Linked DNA regions of Homo sapiens: region 2 is linked to region 1. Evidence: promoter capture Hi-C in human tissues and cell types (Jung and others, 2019). All regions are on one chromosome and are shown on one strand. The core of a region is centred on a gene start or on the middle of the fragment in contact, and the rest is flanking DNA. Distances in the headings are between cores, read along the strand shown. Region 1 holds the start of TMOD4 (tropomodulin 4). Region 2 holds the start of RFX5 (regulatory factor X5).

Region 1 (4,576 bases), core at 1,927-4,426:
TTTGTTGTTGTTTTTGTTTTTGTTTTTTGTTTTTTGAGACGGAGTCTCGCTCTGTTGCCCAGGCTGGAGTGCAGTGGCACTATCTTGGCTCACTGCAAGCTCGGCCTCCTGGGTTCACACCATTCTCCTGCCTCAGCCTCCCGAGTAGCTGGGACTACAGGCGCCCACCACCACACCCAGCTAATTTTTTGTATTTTTAGTAGTGACGGGGTTTCACCGTGTTAGCCAGGATGTTCTCGATCTCCTGACCTCGTGATCCACCCGCCTCGGCCTCCCAAAGTGTTGGGATTACAGGTGTGAGCCACCGCACCCGGCCAGTTTTTTGTATTTTAGTAGAGACGGGGTTTCACTATGTTGCCCAGGCTGGTCTTGAACTCCCGAGCTCAGGCAATCCTGAGTGCTCCCAAGTGCACTCAGGCCTCCCAAGTGCTGAGGTTACAGGTGTGAGTCATGGTGCCTGGCCCAATGATTCCACTTTTATTTGCTCTTACAATCCCTGTAAAATTGCTCTTGAGGTGTTATTAAATTTAAAAATGAATAAATATATAAACAAACAAGAAAAGCTTGAAACTACTGCTTGACGCTTTCTTAGACATCCACATTCTGGTTGAGGGCCTTCCTCACTAGTCCCATGTCATGGCTAGAATCCACCTGCCCCTGATCCTCTCACCCTCAACTTCCCACAGCTACCCACCTGCAATGTCACACATTTCAGCATCTGTGGCATGTGCCAGTGCCTCCTCCAGCTCAGGCTCCAGGGTGATCTGCTCCTCTGCTGGGATTTCCCTCTTGGGCTGAATATAGGGTTTCCCTGATGGGGAGATGAAGGATGGCTCAGGTAGAGGTAATTTCTCCCAAGATCCTGGCCTCCAGGTTTCCTTCCTCCTCCAGGAGGTAGAATGCTGCGTCACGAAGGGACACTGGAAAGCCTGAGTCCTCTACAAACTCAAGAGTCCTTAGCCCCCTGATCTCTCAAGAACTGAAGAGTGCGGGGCTGGGCGCTGTGGCTCACGCCTGTAATCCCAGCACTTGGGGAGGCCGAGGCGGGTGGATCATGAGGTCAGGAGATCGAGACCATCCTGGCTAACATGGTGAAACCCCATCTCTACTAAAAATACAAAAAATTAGCGGCCGGGCACGGTGGCTCATGCCTGTAATCCCAGCACTTTGGGAGGCTAAGGCGGGCAGATCACGAGGTCAGGAGATCGAGACCATCCTGGCTAACACAGTGAAACCCCATCTCTACTAAAAATACTAAAAAATTAGCCGGGCGTGGTGGTGGGCGCCTGTAGTCCCAGCTACTCGGGGGGCTGAGGCAGGAGAATGGCGTGAACCCGGGAGGTGGAGCTTGCAGTGAGCCGAGACTGCACCACTGCACTCCAGCCTGGGCAACAGAGTGAGACTCCGTCTCAAACAAAAAGAAAAAAAAAAGAACTGAAGAGTGCAAGCTCGCATTTAAGTGTCAGGGCATCTGAGTCCCTAGGCAACTAGGAGCTGGAAGGTGAGAGGGAAACTGGAGTGGGGACGAGTGAGAGACAGCACAGCCACTTGGGTTCTACGAGGCATGGATGTCAGGGTCCCCATACCCTTCTTCTCGCCTGTGAAGGGCACCAAGTCATCACGCTCTTTGACTTCTAGTGCCTGTTGCTCCAAGTACTGCAAAAGGGCCTCTCGGTCCAGTGGCCCCGTTGGGCTCTTCTTTGTCTGGTCACGTTGTCTTAGTCCAGCTGGCAGGAGCATGTTCTTAGGGATGAGTTTTGGGGAGCAAGTCAGACCTCCCCTCTGACCTAGGTACTGCTAGGGCTCCCTAAAACATCACCGGACACCTTTCCCCTGGCCTTCTTAGGACCCTAGGTCCTGTAGCAAACCCTATTCTCAGCCACCCAGAGCCCAACACCCTTCCCAAATGCCTGGGACTGCCTCTGGTTCCCTGTGCTGGAGCCCCTACCTCAGGATCCATCTCCTGTAGTTCGCAGTCCAGCTGCTCTAGCTCCTCGGGGCTCAAGGTCCTTAGGATCTCATCTTCATCTATGTCTCTGTATTTCTCCAGTTCCTTCTGATATGATGACATGGTGGCCCCCACCCCCTCCCCACTGTGTGGTACTCACAGAGCCTGGGCAACATGGGACAAAAGGATGGACAATGGTAAGATGGACAGGGACACAGCAGGGACACAAAGAGACCAGCCAGGGGGGCAGAACATTGGATTGGATTTCTTGGAGATTAGAAGTCTAGTTGAGGATGGGAAGTGGGGAAGATTAGGTTGTTTAGAGTTAGAACTAGAGTCTCCTTTCTGCTTCCCCAGCTTCCAGCCACTCTGGATGGGGATCCCAGACATCTAAGCTGGGTTTGTCTTCCCACGGTATGACAGAGAAATCCTGGCAGCACCCCTCCCCTATAACCTCACTTGTCAGTGCCTTCGCCCTAACACAGCTGCTGGAAGCCCTGCCAACACAGCTGGTCCTATGCCCAGTTCCTATTGAAAGGGGATGAGGGGTGGGGGAATAGAGAGCTTCAGGGAAATTCCTCCTCTCCTCCTCATAATCCAGGCTTTTTCCTAAACCGGATAAAAAAACCAAGGACAATGAGGTGTAAGGGGAAGAGAGAGTCTCTTACCCCATCCTCATTTCCCTTTTATTGTGGGGGATCAAGATTTCACTTTCTGTGTTTGCTAAAATTTGAAGTCTTAAGGGAAAGCAAGGGCTCGGAGCAGTTGGGGGACTTCCAGGTTGGGGGAAGGGTAGTAAGGCCTCTGTGAGTCCCCATAATCTGTCCCTTGCTTTGGACAGGAAGGTGACACCAGACCAATGGGTGTAAATAGGGTAAAGTTTCTTTAAAAACAGTGGGAATATTAAACTCGCACAATTTTGTACAATATAAGATACGCATAAGGAGCTATGCATACACACCATGCTGAATATGAAAGATCCAGAAAGTATGTGAGACACATCGACAATGTAAACTATACACAGTTAAGGGGTAGGACGGCACAGTGGCAGAAATATACACTGAGTGACAGAGACAGGGACACACTCCACATCATTCCCCATAGGAGCCACTCTTCTCCTCCCATCTCCCACCGGGCTCTCATCCATAAGCCCCCTGTCTTCCCCACCTACCAGTCCTGGTGGTCACCTCCCTTCTCACCTCCCCTGTGTCAGTAGGTCTGTCTGTTCTACTAGAGCACTGTCCCAGCAGCAGGAGGAGCCCGGTGCCGGGGGAGAGGGTGGGGGAACAGTGAGCTCAGCATTTTATTATTTTAGCTCTGGCCAGGTGGGGGGTAGTGGGAGATCACATATACACAGCCCCCATACCCTGCCCAGCCCTGAGAGCCTCTAGTGGTCATTAACAGCCATGGCATCTCTTCCACTTCCCTTCATACAAGCCCCAGTCTGAGACATATGAGTTCGACTAGAATCAGCCAGTTCCTCCTTATTTGGTGCCTGCTGTATTCAAAACAGTGAGTGTAAAGTGATAGGAAGGTCAATACAAGGATGTGTTTTGGTGTGCAATTTTCAGATGTTTATAATTTAGTTGGAGGAATGAATACAATTTAGAAAGGACAGCTCATAATAAATGCTATCGAATAAAGACCCAAATATATGCAGGTATTCAAATACTTCTTGCTCCCAACCCTAGACTGGACACCAGACAAAAGGGATCTTTCTATTTTATTAGATTAAAAAACACAACGAAACCTGTAAGAACTAGGGGAAAAGGAAAAAGAAACAGATTAGGCAAAGATCAGAGATGACAAAGGGGAGAAGCAGGGAGAAGAAACGGAACAGCAAGAGCCCCAATCAGGGCAGGAAAGAAGTTTCTGAGGACTAGACATCTCTTCATTTAATGACAATTTTCTGGCGCAAGGCTCGGGGCCCAGAGCCAGGGAGGGGCTCAGGAGGTGGCGGGCCGGGGCCCAGGGCTGAGGCAGTGGGCGGCAGTCCATGGGCAGTAATGTACTTCTTGTAAGCCTCACGAATGATCTTGAAGGCTCGAGCAGTGGCATAGGGTATGTCTGTAACAGGGTCCCGGTATAGGGCTGGACGATGGGTCACTGGACAGACCTCACGAACAGGGACTTTTGGGGGCCGCCCTTGGGGGAACCATTCCTCGAAAGTTGCATCATCACTAAAAGTGATGAAGGTACGTGAGCAGCGAGCAGGGGGGTTGACGGGTCCAGTCCCAGCATGAGGAGTCAATGCAGACACCGAGGGAGCAGGATCAAGTCTGAGGACAAAAGACAAGGAAAAACACAAAGAGCTGAGGAGAGAAGACAACAGATACAGAAAGAAGGAAATCAGGCTGGGTGCAGTGGCTCACACCTGTAATTCCAGCACTTTGGGAGGCTGAGGCAGGCAGATGACGAGGTCAGGAGTTCGAGACCAGCCTGACTAACAAGGTGAAACCCTGTCTCTACTAAAAATACAAAAATTAGCCGGGCGTGGTGGCGGATGCCTGTAATCACAGCTACTCAGGAGGTTGAGGCAGGAGAATCACTTGAAGCCAGGAGGCGGAGGTTGCATGGAACCAAGATCGTGCCATTACACTCCAGCCTGGGTGACAGAGCAGCGAGACT
Region 2 (4,575 bases), core at 1-2,500, 170 kb after region 1:
TTTCCCTGTCTCTTTATCTGACTGCTAGGGAGGGAAAAGGACTGAAATGCCCAGCAGGTGCTCAAGAATTGCTACCATGGCCAAAAATCTCCCTCTGCTCCCATGCCCTTGCTGAGAGGCAGTTCATCTACAGCCAAAGTGAAGTGCTGCAGGGATCTATACTCAGGTCTTGGACAGGACTTGGAGATGTGATGAGTACTTACGAAATGGTACCTCGGAGCCTCTGAAGAAGGGTGGTAGGTTCCCCAGCCTCAGCACCACCTGGGGGGGCCCTTCCCCCAGTCTTGGGGCTCTTAGCATCAGGCTCATCTTCTGCCATCCCGGCATGAGGGCTAGAATTGAGAGGGACAGGCATAAAGATGTAACTCACACTGGCCTTCCCTTCCCCAGAAGGCCCCAGGGCACTCCTCATCTCTTTACCCAGAAAGGCAGAGAAACAGAAACAAAGCCTCCGAATTTCCCCGGTGGTCTTTTTCTCACCACTTGCCTTCTCCGAAAATTAGAAATTATTCCATTACTTCGCCAGGCCCATATATGCCCAAAGAGATCTTTGCCATCTCCATTCTATCTGCCCCACCTTTCTGAAGTCTCCTAAATCTGGAAAACTGTAAAGGAAGAGATAGGGGGATTGGGAATCCATGTTAGCAAGAAATTTTCATTTCTGCCTCTGACCCCATACTGCCCTCCTCCCCCTCAAAAACAACAATAACAGCCACAAAACAAAGTTCTCTAATTCTCAAAAATACTCCTCACCATTGCATATGCCTGGGAGGTCAGAAAGGATACGAACATATTCTGCCCTTCTAGGCTTGGAAAAAAAACTGGGCCCAAGTTCTCATTACTTAATCTCGCCACGACTTCCCCCGCTGCTCCCCCTCCCCACGTCGCCGGCCCCTACGTCATCTCCCACAACAGCCCATCCTGAGGCGCGCCCCCACCTCCTTCCCTTCCCCCTCCATTCAATCCCCGGTTTCTGCAAAGTGGAGCGGGGGTGGGGCGGGGTAGCGGAACTCATGCGCTGGGCGTCAGAAACCCGGCAGGGGAATGGGGTCCCAGATTCCGGGCACGTGCACATGGGTGAAGAAGCTGTTGAAAATACAGCTACAATCTTTTTCTGCTCTCCTCCCAACTCATCTTGCCCCTCCCTACCTCTGAACAGTCGCCTTCCAACACAAGCAACAATAAAGGTAAGGGAGAAAGAGAAACTACCTCGTAGCCACCTTCACTCCAGCCCAGCCCCAAGGTCCTGGCCCAGCCGGCTCGTGCGTTGCTTTATTTTCCTTTTTCTGAATGGTTGTAACAGCCGCGATCTGCCTAGATACACGGGCGGCCTGCTCTGTCATTGGTCACTGCTGCCACCCGGAGACAGAAGGCGCCGGGCTCGTACCGGCGGCCGCTGAAGTCTGCCTGGTAACAGAATCTGATTGGTCAATAGGGGAGGGAAAATCCAAAGTTGGTCTTATTTGAGTCAAGAGGGGGAAGTCCGGGTTGGGTTTCGGTTAAAACTGGGGTCGGTTGGGACTGCAGGTCCCAAGAGGTTCTTCTCTTAAAGGGACCGCAGGATGAAAGAACGGGCGCTCGGCTCCCTTTGGAACTGTCTTTTCTTTTGCCCTCCCCTTTTGTGTTTCAGTTTAGTCTACGGTCCTCAGAGCTGCCGGAAGAGAAGAATCAATGGATGATAAAATAACTAGACAATGATGGGTAGGAGTGATGGAAGTTCACTGTAAGCTCCTATAACCCCCCATCACCATCACCACATGCCTAATACAACCTGCAGACACACTTACTCGCAACAGACCTGCAATCTGGGCTCTCTTTTCCTTCTTGATGGAGGCCTCAAAACCTCAGCAGTTGTACCCATTAAACTAAAATGCTTTTTCCCTCTTAGTATTTCTTGGTTTCCCGTGTGTACTTTACTTCCAAAGAGTTGCAAATGCATTTGCATCCCCATAGTTCTGCAGTCGGTGAACCCTGGAATTTTGATGGACTCCCACGGGGGTGCTGGATGCCACAGGAACTTTTTACACTCAGGGAACATTGTACTGAATAGGTCATGGGTTCTTAACCCTCTTACTTAAGACATTTTAAGGTTATGAATCAGACAAAAGCAATGGACCCTCTACCATGAAAAATGCACACAGAGACCAAGTTTTGCATCTAATTTCAGAGAGGTCATGGACTCCAGGTTGAAAGCCTCTTACATGGATGTATTTTGTTTTGCGCAGCGGTCATGTTACAACCAAAACTGTATTTGCCATCCTGACATCTAATATGTTCTCCAGGCTCATCATTAATGTGCTTTTGTAAAGAAGACAGTAGTGCTGCCTGAGCTCATCACCATTGCCCTTTACAGCCTACCTTTCCCTATTATCAGCTTCTATGAGTGCTGGGGGAACCCAGGAGATTGTGGAGTTGGGGCAATAAGGATATATTGGCAAGAGGTTTTCTTTTTTCTTTCTTTCTTTCTTTTTTTTTTTTCTTTGAGACGGAGTCTCGCTCTGTTGCCCAGGCTGGAGTGCAATGGCACGATCTTGGCTCACTGCAACCTCCGCCTCCTGGGTTCAAGCGATTCTCCTGCCTCACCCTCCCGAGTAACTGGGTTTACAGACGTGCATCACCACGCCCAGATAATTTTTGTGTTTTTAGTAGAGACGGAGTTTCACCATGTTGGTCAGGCTGGTCTCAAACTCCTGACTTCAGGTGATCCACCTGCCTTGGCCTCCCAAAGTGCTGGGATTACAGGTGTGAGCCACTGCACCTGGCCAGGTTTTCTAATAACAGCTAAAATTTATTTGGTGTTTATTAGGCCAGGCGCGGTGGCTCACGCCTGTAATCCCAAAACTTTGGGAGGCTGAGGTGGGCGGATCACCTAAGGTTGGGAGTTCGAGACCAGCTTGACCAACATGAAGAAACCCCGTCTCTACTAAAAATACAAGATTAGCCGGGCGTGGTGGCGCATGCCTGTAATCCCAGCTACTCGGGAGGCTGAGGCAGGAGAATCACTTGAACTGGGGAGGCGGAGGATTGTGCCATTACACTACAGCCTGGCAACAAGAGCGAAACTCCGTCTCAAACAAAAACAAACAAAAATTTATTTGGTGTTTATTAGGTATCAGACACCATACCAAATGCTAAACACCTCGTGTAATGCTCACAGCAACTCTCTGAAGTAGGTACTGTTACTGTCTCCATTTTACAGATGAGGAAACCAATGTGGAGAGGTGAAGGGACTTGTCCTTAGTCATATATGTAGAAAGTGCTAGAATCAGGATCCAAAGGCAGGCAGTCTGCCTCAAAGCTGATTGTTTTGAGCACTGCCTTAGACTGCATGTATACATATTTGCAGATACTCATAAATAAATATGGGTATAACGGGCTGGACATGATGGCTCATGCCTATAATCTCAATACTTTGGGAGGCAAAGGCAAGAGGATTGCTTGGGGCCAGGAGTTTGAGACCAGCCTGGGCAACAAAGTGAGACTCTGTCTCTCTCTAAACACACACACACACACACACACACACACACACACACACACACACACACACCACACACAGCCAGGTGTGGTGGTACATGCCTGTGGTTCCAGCAACTTGGGAGGCTGAAGCAGGAGGATCACTATTACCCATGAGTTCGAGGCTGCAGTGAGCTATGATTGCACCACTCTGTCGTGCAGCCTGGGTGACAGAGTAAGACCCTGTCTCAAAACAAACAAACAAACAAAAAACAAAAAAAAAGCCGGCTGGTGTGGTGGCTCATGCCTATAATCCCAGCACTTTGGGAGGCTGAGGTGGGCAGATCACCTGAGGTCAGTTTGAGACCAGCCTGACCAACATGGAGAAACCCCGTCTCTACTAAAAACAAAAAACAAAAAACAAAACAAAAAACAAAACAAAATTAGCCAGTCGTGGTGGTGCATGCCTGTAATCCCAGCTACTTGGCAGGCTGAGGCAGGAGAATTGCTTGAACCTGGGAGGCGGAGGTTGGGTGAGCCGAGATCATGCCATTGCACTCCAGCCTGGGCAACAAGAGCGAAACTCCATCTCTAAATAAATAAATAAATAAATAGCAAGCCAAATATGGATATAGACTGATGGAAAGATAGCCCTAACACCACTGTTTGGTATGAAGGAGAACCTAGAGCACTTTGGTTGCAAACAGAGTTTTGGGTAAGTTATCTAGCTTAAAAATTTGCAGATAACAGGGAAAAACTGGAAGCTTTAGTAAGGGGGGAGAAAGTATCATAGTACATAGTACCTAGTAAAAGAGATGATTTTGACAGCACTATAGAAGGTAGAGTTGAGTGAAAGAAAAGGCTAGAGATAGGAAAGAGGAAACTATTAATTTATGCCAGGCATTGTGTTAAGAGCTAGGGATACAAAGCTGAATAAGGTATGGTCCTTGCCTTGGGCAGTAACAATAAAAATTGTCCGGATAAGCATCATATAACAGCAAGTATTTATACAGAGCCTAATATGTGTTGGGGCCCGTTCTTTTTTTTTTCGAGACGGATTCTTGCTCTGTCACCCAGGCTGGAGAGCAGTGGCGCAATCTCGGCTCACTGCAAGCTCTGCCT

Evidence for each region. The method cuts DNA at HindIII sites, captures the fragments that hold promoters and counts their contacts. A contact is called where the count stands out against the background at its distance.
Region 2: the fragment with the promoter of RFX5 here is called in contact with the fragment with the promoter of TMOD4 in region 1 in 1 of the 25 tissues and cell types used here (adrenal gland).

What each region holds. Positions count from the first base shown.
Region 1 is chr1:151,172,805-151,177,380 of GRCh38, forward strand. TMOD4 (tropomodulin 4) reads right to left here and starts at 3,177. Exons shown (of 10, transcript NM_013353.3): 1 at 3,120-3,177; 2 at 1,949-2,113; 3 at 1,587-1,743; 4 at 695-811. The coding sequence starts at 2,071. VPS72 (vacuolar protein sorting 72 homolog) reads right to left here. Exons shown (of 6, transcript NM_005997.3): 6 at 3,500-4,227. The coding sequence ends at 3,840. The HindIII fragment of the contact is 10,118 bases long and covers 1-4,576 here.
Region 2 is chr1:151,346,002-151,350,576 of GRCh38, forward strand. It overlaps RFX5 (regulatory factor X5), which reads right to left and starts at 1,251. Exons shown (of 11, transcript NM_001025603.2): 1 at 1,210-1,251; 2 at 488-605; 3 at 204-332. The coding sequence starts at 319. It overlaps RFX5-AS1 (RFX5 antisense RNA 1), which reads left to right and starts at 1,009. Exons shown (of 2, transcript NR_131972.1): 1 at 1,009-1,187; 2 at 1,631-1,890. RefSeq lists enhancers at 84-173, 513-1,712, 767-1,349, 1,316-1,665. The HindIII fragment of the contact is 16,924 bases long and covers 1-4,575 here.